2 separate regions of the Homo sapiens genome follow, and region 2 is linked to region 1. The links are contacts of gene promoters, found by promoter capture Hi-C in blood cells and fetal thymus (Javierre and others, 2016). All regions are on one chromosome and are shown on one strand. Each heading gives the region's core, a stretch centred on a gene start or on the middle of the fragment in contact. The rest is flanking DNA. Distances are from core to core; before and after follow the strand shown.

The links. The method cuts DNA at HindIII sites, captures the fragments that hold promoters and counts their contacts. A CHiCAGO score of 5 or more calls a contact.
Region 2: a fragment that was not itself captured here is called in contact with the fragment with the promoter of RYK in region 1 in 1 of 17 cell types (naive B cells); the score reaches 7.1 in naive B cells.

Annotation. Positions count from the first base shown.
Region 1 is chr3:134,248,698-134,253,449 of GRCh38, forward strand. It overlaps RYK (receptor like tyrosine kinase), which reads right to left and starts at 2,162. Exons shown (of 15, transcript NM_002958.4): 1 at 1,726-2,162. The coding sequence starts at 1,957. RefSeq lists an enhancer at 1,403-2,181 and a silencer at 1,517-2,336. The HindIII fragment of the contact is 6,752 bases long and covers 1-3,653 here.
Region 2 is chr3:132,410,420-132,415,759 of GRCh38, forward strand. No RefSeq gene overlaps it. Among named protein-coding and RNA genes, the nearest start is that of DNAJC13, 4.4 kb to the right of the region's middle. The HindIII fragment of the contact is 963 bases long and covers 3,084-4,046 here.

The sequences.
Region 1 (4,752 bases), core at 912-3,411:
TGAGGCAGGTGAATCACCTGAACCCAGGAAGCAGAGATTGCAGTGAGCCGAGATCACGCCACTGCACTCCAGCCTGGGTGACAAGAGCGAGACTCCGTCTAAAAAAAAATTAACTGTGTGACCTTGAGCAAGTTACTTTAAAACCCCACTTTCCTCATCTCTACAATAGGCATAATGCCACCTACCTCACTGGGCCCCGAGAAAATTAGAAGAAATTATGTGTATAAAGCATGTAGGGGCAGGTATATGGCAGGAATTCAATGTCAGTCCCTGGTTGTCTTCTGTCTCCTACCTACACCTCTGACTTTGTTTACCCATGTAAACAAAGTCACAAGCTATATAAGTGCTTTTAACCAAAAAGCCTTTACAAAACCATGCATAATACGTTAATATTTCTAAAATTAATGTGATATGAGTCGTCTTGTATTATTTTTCCTAAATCTTAGTCTTGTGTTCCAAGTACTACCCCAAGTAGAGTTTTAATTCAGCTAAACTACATTCAGCTAACTCAGCTAGACTAAGAAGGATTAAGAATGAGCACGACTTCATAAAAAGAGCATTCTTCTTTGGCTAAAAACTGCAAATCCGTACATGTAATGTCTAAAGAGTCTGCTTTCAGTAATTCCATTTCTACACTGAGTCAATCTCAACACACCTCAACAAAGTCTTATTACTTAAAAAAAAATAGAATACTGACAAATAATGGATGCAATAGAGAATAATTTTTCCCCTCAAACACTCAGAAGCACCACCTTCAGATGAAATAAAGATACTGCCATAATAACAAAAGAATGCAAACGTCTAGGTACCAAGGACTTCCTTTTTGGGGGGTCGTTCCTGTCAGATCTTCCTCTAAGGGGTCATTTCCAGAATCCACAAAGTCCTAACATAAGACCCCAGCAATTTTTCAAATTAATTCCCCAAACAACAAAGCTAAGCAAGTAAATGGAACCACAAACCGACCCAAGACTAAGTTCTTGTTTCCCTTCAAGATACTCAAAAGTAGGAGAGTGGCCCAGAAGTACAGAGTCAGTCCAAACTCCCAACACACCCAATGCAAAAACCAAAAAGGTATTGAAACTAAAAAGGTCTGCTACCTGGCGATTCATTCACTAAAAATATGCTTAGAATCTAAGCATATGCTCCAAATCTACGTCCCAAGAGTTGGAGGCTGCCACGAACATTTGGTGCCCTTATAACCTCCCCTTCTTTCTCTCTCGTTTTTTTTTTTTTTTTTTTTTTTTTTGTAAAAGGGTAAGCACAGAGCGTGGCCTCTACTGGAGCATCAAAACCACAGCAAAGGGTTTGCAAGTTCAGTCTAAAACGTGAATTTCGAGATATTCAAAATCGAGGGCCCTAGAGTGACACACATAGAAAGCGTCAAAAAAACTTCGTGCAGCAAGGAAAAAAAGTTGTAAGGGTGACTGACTCTTCTAGGGAGAAGGGCTAAGGAGGCAGTGAGGAGGATGGGATGGGGTGAATCTGGGTCTATCGCGGCGGGGCAGCGAGGGCGGCACGAAGGCTGACCCAGAGCTGGGGACCGGGCAGGGACCACACCTCCCAGCCAGCACGGCAGGCAGAGACCGGGCCGCGAGGCGAATCCGGGCGCGGGGGGCGGGGAGGGTACTCGCCCGAGGTCCACGGCTCGCAGACTGATCCGCCGGCGGCCGGAAGCTGCCCCAGCCGGCCCGACCTGCCCGCCCCGGCCTCGGCGGCCCCACTCACCGATCAGCCGGCGCACCTCGTCCTCGCTCAGGTAGAGACTCACGCTGGGCCCCGCGGAAGCCGACTGCAGCTCCGGGGGCCGCGGGGCGGGGGCGGCGGCAGCGCCAGGCGCGGGCAGCAGCGGCAACAGCGCAAGCAGAAGCAGCAGCGGCGGCGGCGGCGGGGCCCTCAGGCCGCGGGCCCCCGGGAGGCAACTCCGGCCCGGCCGCCCCAGCCGCGCCGCCCCACGCATGGCCGCCGCCGCCGCCGCCGAAGAGGAGCGTCGGCCGCCCGCCGCACCGCCGCCCACCCCCGGCCCCGAGCCGCTCACAGCCCCGAGCCGGGGGCGGCTGCCCAGCTCATCGCACCGCCGGCCCGTGGCAGCCAGCAGTGGCTTCAGACCTCCGGAGCGCGCCGCCGCCGCCGCCTCCTCGCTGCATCGTCCGGAGTTGGGGGCTGCCCGCGGGACGCGCCCGTGCGCGCCGCCGCCTCCCCGGGAGCGCGCACGCACCTTTCGCTCTGGGCGGGCCGGCCTGGGCAACGCGCTGGGGTTTTAAAGTGCCTCGGCGGGCGAAGGGCTCGGGTCACCCTCTCCGCAAGAGCCGGTCCCCGCCCCACGCGGTCACTGCGTCTAATGTTTGCTTGTCTATTGTCTGTAACCCTCCTTTCCCGACGGACGGGCCAGGCTGGAGCCACCGGCCGCGCCTGCAGCTCAGTGGGCGCCCCAGGTCCCCGGAAACGCCTGGATGCGGCCGTTCTGGTTGCGAAAAAGCAGCATGCTTTCCTGTTTAGTGGGAAAACTCAAATAAATAGAAATCATCCTTTATCTTACCATCGGTGATCAACTTTATCGTTTCCGTATCTATTATTAGAATTTATACTACATATATTTGTTTTCCAGAAAGATCTTAGCACGCTTTACTAACCCTATTTTTACGTTACAAAATTTTATTTATTTTTATATTTTTATTTATTTATTTTGAGACGAAGTCTTGCTCCGTCACCCAAGCTGGAGTGCACTGGCACGATCTCGGCTCACTGCAACCTCTGCCTCCTAGGTTCAAGCCATTCTCCTGCCTCAGCCTCCCGAGTAGCTGGGATTACAGGCGCCCGCAACCATGCCCGACTAATTTTTTTGTATTTTTAGTAGAGACGGGGTTTCACCATGTTGGCCGGGTTGGTCTCGAACTCCTGACCTCACGTGATCAACTGACCTCGGCCTCCCAAAGTGCTGGGATTACAGGTGTAAGCCACCGCGCCCTGCCAAATTGTTATTTTTTTTATAATCGTTCTGCATCACTATAATCAACCTGCCTTTGGGGTTGTTAATCTGTGGTCCATACCAGGCTTCGACAGCCTTCCAATAATATGAAACTGTGTGCAAAAGTGTATGTGTCTCCGTGCGTATTTGTGTCCACGTCCATGTTTCTGTGTGTTGTGTGTATGCTTGATTGCACACAGAGAGGTGGTATGTCATCATTTGTTCTAGGGAGTCCTTGTGCCCTCAAAGAGGTTAAGAACTGCAGATAGACCTCGTGTACTTAAAGGCGGTGGAGCCAGCCAGTGCATGGACTTCCGGGCCTCCTGATGTATTTTTGTGAGCCGCCCACCATCGCGGTCAAACTTGCACCAGTGCCCCCTCTCTTGGTGAGGCTCCAAGGGCCCCTGCCCTGTCCTGGGACACCTCGTCCCTGCGGACAGGCCCCCGTCCTGACCCCAAGGCTCTCGCGGGGCCGTGCCTCGGGGAGCAGCTGCTCTGACAGCTAGGCCTGGCTTCGGGGCACAGTTGCTCCATCGCAGTGAGGCCCTGGGAAGCGGTTATTTTTATCCTCAGGGAAGGGTAGGGAAAAGGAGAGGCTGATAAGGAGGGAAGTGCTGGAACTTGATTTTCTCCCTCCCTAGCAAGATACACGGATTCCATTTAGAGATAGGCTGGCCTCAATTTGTCAAGCTTCAGCGCCTCAGCACAAAATCTTACACCCTTCATCCTGCCGGAGGAGGCTGAGAAGAGGAAGAGGGGAGGAAAAGTGCTCCATCAGAGAAGGCTTTTAAGCCACAAAAGTCAGCAAAAATACTTCTGTTGGGACAGCCACTGCTACCAGGGTTCTGCCAGGAAGGGCTGGAGGCTCAAAACATGTTGTGTGAACAGGAATCTCAATTCAGATGGGAAGCATTTTTTTAAAGGATGGCATATTCTTTGCACTTTTAAAAAAGCTCACAGTCCTCAAAGAATGAAACTCCTAGCTTCTCGAGGTTCTTTAATTACTAGGTCTTGTCAGTGACTTCTTCAGGCGGCCTATGATGTAAACAGCAGAGAGCTCCCACTCAGGCCTGGCTGGGTTCTGGTACTTGTTAATCCTGTGGTCTTGGGAAAATTAAACTCTCCAAGCCTTGGTTCTCTCATTCATAAAAATCCCGGGATAATGCCCGACTCCCAGGGCTTTTACAGGATTTAATTGGAGAGGGATACAAGTAAAACATCTAGGCAGACGCTGGGTAGGTGTCACACCTGTTGTTATTGTAATTACAAGGAATCCTTTCCCTTTAATGACCACTTCCTGTGAAAGTTTCATCACCAGTTACCTCCAAACAGTTCAAACCTGGGACCCTCATGAACCTCATTCAATAGCACTGAGCCTGGCCCAGAGCCTGAGCTCGATGAAGACTCGTGCCAGGCATCACGCTAGGCACTGGGGACACAGGAGCGAGCAATGTGCTTCCTTGAGAACTTTGATAAACAAATGTTTTCATAAATTCTACAAAGACAAGTTCTCAAAGTGTGGCCCCCAGACCAGCAGTATCATCACCTGGGAACTTGTAATGTAAATTCCTTGGACACTGCCCATACTAACAGGTAGCAGCTCCAGGGCTGGGGCCCAACAATCTGTTTTCCCAAGCCTCCTGGTAATTCTGATGCTGCTGGTCACTCCATTAATATCTCAGCTCTCCTGTCTCTCTTTTGGTCAGCTGCAGTTGCCTGCTTTCTCCCTTACTCGCTCAGTCTGTTCCCAACACAGCAGACAGAGGCATTCTGTTAAACGTCAGCCT
Region 2 (5,340 bases), core at 2,315-4,814, 1.8 Mb before region 1:
ATTGTGCTGAAATAGTAATACTCTATTAATTTCTTTTTATTTGCATGAATAACACAGTGACACTCAATAGCCCAGCCCTTAAAAAATGTAACATCATTGAGTAATGAATTCAGAAATGAAGCAGATGCCCACAGACAAGCAGCTCTAGCCATCACAACTATGCTCTGGGCACAAAAAAAACGTAAAGGGTGGGGGAAAAAGGACACCTACTAGCTGAATCTGATAGCCCACACCAACAATATCTGCTTATGTTTCATCGGCCAGACTTATGTCATCTCTGATATGGTCAGCCGATCTGAGAGGAGGTTGACGATGTAGTACTTGTAGGTGGCACATTGCCACCTTCAACTTGTAGGGAAGAAGAGGAAAATGATATTGGGTAGGCAATAGTATTTACTCTGGAAATATACAGGGTTTCTAAAACTTAACATGTTCAAACCATACTTTTTTTAAAATTTTACTTTAAGTTCTGGGATACATGCGCTGATGGTTATAGACTTTTTTTAAAAAAACCTTTTTTAAACAAAATTTTAGTTTAAGTTCTGGGATACATGTGCTGAACGTGCAGGTTTGTTGCATAGGTATACATGTGCCATGGTGATTTGCTGCACCTATCAACCTGTCATCTAAGTTTTAAGCTCCGCATGTATTAGGTATTTGTCCTAATGCTCTCTCTCTCCTTTCCCCCGACCCCACAACAGGCCCCAGTGGGTGATGTTCCCCTCCGTGTCTATGTGTTCTCATTTTTCAACTCACACTTATGAGTGTGAACATGCGGTGTTTGGTTTTCTGTTCCTGTGTTAGTTTTCTGAGGATGATGGTTTCCAGCTTCATCCATGTCCCTGCAAAGGACATGAACTCATTCTTTGTTGTGGCTGCATAGTATTCCATGGTATATATGTGCCACATTTTCTTTATCCAGTCTATCATTGATGGGCATTTGGGTTGGTTCCAGGTCTTTCCTATTGTAAATAGTGCTGCAATAAACATATGTGAGCATGTGTCTCTATAGTAGTATGATGTATAATCCTTCAACTCTCAAAGTTTGTCTGACAGGCAGATTAGGAATAGACCCAAAGTAACTTTAACATTTGCAGTGACTAGTATATGTGAGTTTCTTCTATATTAGTAAGATTTTTTTCAAATTGGCTTTGTTAGTATGTGCTTTTTATTTTGGTTTACATTGATTTACTTTTTTTTTTCTCAGACTTCACTGTATAGATTTGAGAACCAATAACTTTACAAGCTAATTAGTTGAGCTTGAAATACTACTTCTTTTATGTTTTATTTTCCTTTACGCTAAGTAGGTGGCTGCCACCTCATTTACTGTTGCTCACAAAAAGAAAAAAAAATCATCTTTTCATTGACAAAATTAAGTTTTACATGGAAATAACAGTCATATCATCTTTATATGCTCAAAGCCAGCAATAATTTGGGTAATGAAGTTTTATGTTCTCAGATAGGCATAATATGAATAAGTTATTATCCAAGATTAATGAATAGATATCCTTTCCTTCTATGTGGTTGCAATGATCTTTAACAAAATTAGTGGGAAAAAAAAGCTTTTGTTGCACCTGATTAACTCACCTTGATTTAGGCGTGAATGAGTCATTGTCATTCTAAGAACTTCCTCATGGTCAAGTTTTGGATCACCATTTTTAAAATATATTGTGACTGTCGAAATTCCATGCATGTAAGACTTTTTTGCATTGTTAACATTCACAGATGAATTGAACAAGTCAACTCTGTGTTCTCCATAATAAATAAAATGAACTATTTAATGATGTCTCATGATAGGAGTATTCAAATATGGTTGTCAAGAATGAACACTTGAACTTTCCCCATTCTGCTAATAATACAGAATATCTGCTTATCTGACATTCTGTATTATTAGCATCTGGTTAGTCCTCTGATGATAACTACAGCAAACCTGTTTCATTTAAAAACGCAAGGACAAGGATTACATAAAGAAGCTGGAGACCCTGATATTAACTATAGTGTGTGCTCAGTAATGAACTGCTCTATATAAGTTATTATCTGTATTATCTTCATCTGGTTAGTCCTCTGATGATAAGAACTACAGCAAACCTGTTTCATTTAAAAACTCAAAGACAAGGATTACATAAACAAGCTGGAGACCCTGATATTAACTATAGTGTGTGCTCAGTAATGAAGTGCTCTACATAAGTTATGTAACTCCTGCAAATGTCTCTCAAGGTAGGTATCAATATCTGAAGTTTACAGAAGAGGGAACTAAGACTCAAAGAGGATAACGAACTTGCCTGTGAGTTTTTTAAACTACATTATATTTCCTTCAAGTGCTGATGACTAAAAATGTCTGAATATAATAATTTCATAGCAGATTGGAAATCTTGTTCACTTCAAAACCCTTTATGGAAAAAACCACATAAGGTTCTTGAGTTTTCTCAAATCTGATAATACAAGAAGTATTTGAATTAATTAGTAAGAACACCTGAATTAGAAAACCCTCAGCAGTGTATATATTGTAAAAGAGCAGTTGTGGTAAAATTTAATAAGGAAAAAGAACACAGGCCTTTTTCTTAACCAGTTAAAATTTCAATAATAGTTTAAAATTGTTAGACCACAGAATAAGTTATTTTCTTTTCCCTCCTCATCCATCTTTGAAAATATAATCAAATCTAGATAATTTCCTGTAATTAAATGAAAGCATGTTTTTGTTAATAAAATATTATAAATTCAAAATCCTTTATATATGAACATCATTATACTATTTAAAAAGATATTTTAATTCACATTAATAATAAAACTAGACTTCCTGGGGTAGGATTAAGTGAGCTGGGGAAGCCAGGCTATCAGTTACAAAAAAAAAAAATTGTGGATCCTATATATATATACAGATACATATGTATATATGTCAAGAAATTCTCATGTCATAATTTGTCATATGTTGTAAATAATTTCAATTATTTGAATTACAGTATAGAGAAACACAGAAAACTAAATACGTGTGGCCAGATAAATCTTGAGAAAAACCACTAAAGACAAACAACCAACCAATCACATAACAAATTAAAATGAAGTCCAGTAGAAGATTCTGTGGAAGCTTCAAGCTCACCAACTCGACGTAGTTGTTTTCTGACACTTACTGTTTGCTTGCACAAGATTTTCTAATAGCAGTATTGTCCAAGAGAAATACAATGGGAGCCATATATTTAATTTTACATTTACTAGTAGCTACATTCCTTAAAAGAAACAAGTGAAATTAATTTTAATAACATTTTATTTAACCAAATATACAGCCATAATATTATCATTTCCACATGTGACAAAGAGTCTTTGCTCAGCCAAATTTTAATCAGGCTTCTGAACCTTTCCTTAGGCCCCTCTGTGTGCTTCCTTGAAAAGTCTAGTCTGCAAAAGAACCTGGCTAAGTCAGTTTAGCCAAAATTCCCTCGATATGTGATCAGATTCCTCATCTTTCACCTTCCCCCAGAAGATGTCTAATCACTCTGGCCTGTCTTTAGCAAGAATCCTGTTACGTAGGTTTAGCCAGGATCCCCGCTCACCCCTGATGTTTTCTCTTAGTAATTTTCCATCCACTGACCCCCACACACTGTTCCTTGGAGATAAATGCATACTTGCCCGTGTCGTTTTCCGACCTGAGCCCCGTCTCTCTCCCTTACTGCAAGCCCCTGTTGCAGTGGCTCCTGTACCTATTGTAATGATCGTAAATAAACTGAATAAAATCTTTTTTGTGGGGAGCAGGGGGTACAGGGTCTTTCTCTGCTGCCCAGGCAGGAGTGCAGTGGCACAATTATAGCTCACTGTAACCTCGAACTCCTGGGCTCAAGAGATCCTCTCACCTCAGCCTCCTGAGTAACTAGCACTACAGGGGCATGCCCCCATGCCCAGATAATGCTTTTATTTTTATTATTTTGTAGCAATGGGGTCCCACTACATTGCATAGGCTGGTCTCAAACTCCTGGCCTCAAGTGATCCTCCTGACTTGGCCTCCCAAAGCCTTGGGATTACAGGTGTCAGCCATCATGCTCAGCCTATTACCAAGCTTTAACAAGTATCATTAAATAATACTTTTTTTTTTTTTGAGAGTTTCACTCTTGTTGCCCAGGCTGGAGTGCAGTGGCACCATCTCGGCTCACTGCAACCTCCCCCTCCCAGGTTCAAGTGATTCTCCTGCCTCAGCATCCCGAATAGCTGGGATTACAGGTATGCACCACCAGGCCCGCCTAATTTTTTTATATTTAGTAGAGACGGGGTTTCATCATGTTGGCCAAGCTGGTCTCAAACTCCTGACCTCAGGTGATCCACCCGCCTCAGCCTCCCAAAGTGCTGGGACTACAGGCGTGAGCCACCGTGCCCGGCCTAAATATTTTTTTCTTTTAACACGTGTAATCAATATAAAAATTGCTAATGCAACATTTTACATTTTTTTGTAACAATTTTAATTTTTATTCTGTGTTCAGTAGCCACATAGGGCTAGTGGCTACTGTACTGAAAACATAGTTCAAGCATTGTTGAGTGGTATGAGTTCTTAAGGATTTACTTTGGATCTGGGCATTGATATAATTAGGAAGGTCAATTTAGCAGCAATGGGAATTAGATAAGCAAGTGTTTGACATTCTTGTGGGCTCTCTAAAGTCTTAGATCACTCCAGCCTTGTATGCTAACTTTGGAGACTGATAAAGGCTATTGGTGCCTAAAAGGCTGTGAAATGTATTTTTTAAAAAGCTGTGAAATATTTTAAGTGTACATCACATAATTTAGATTGTAAATTTGATACATCTGCACTATGAAAGTGTCAGAAACGCTAGTGCAAACTTTAATTATGAATAAAAAGACAAATCCAGAAAAAGAAGTGTGCATTTGTCACTCTTAAAAAAGAGTTGGGTGGGGAAAGGATCCAACTGATTTAACCTAATAGGGAAAGAAGAGACAAGTCCTACTCTCCCTGACTCTTGTATTTTGTTGTGGCATTTTAAGAAGGATCCAATTGTATGGATCCAATTAAAAGCAACCAGTGGTTGTGAAAAGGCTTGAAACTACATCTTGTGAACAATGGTTGAAAGTACTTTGAATATGGTTTCTTAAAATGAGTATCTGTAGCAGGGGTAGTTAGAAGGATATGCACGGGAGAGGGAGTGGGAAAGGGTGATAAGCTGTACTGATAAGTGCTTAAATGAATGTCACATACAAGAAGAAAAGAGCAAGAAACAAAGACAAAATAACTACTCATAGAAGAGAGTGCAAGTTGGCTGAATACAAGGAAAATGGCTTATAAAAATGCAATGGAAAAAGATGTCTTGTGAGGCAATTTTGCACTACAGAGGATGGGGACAA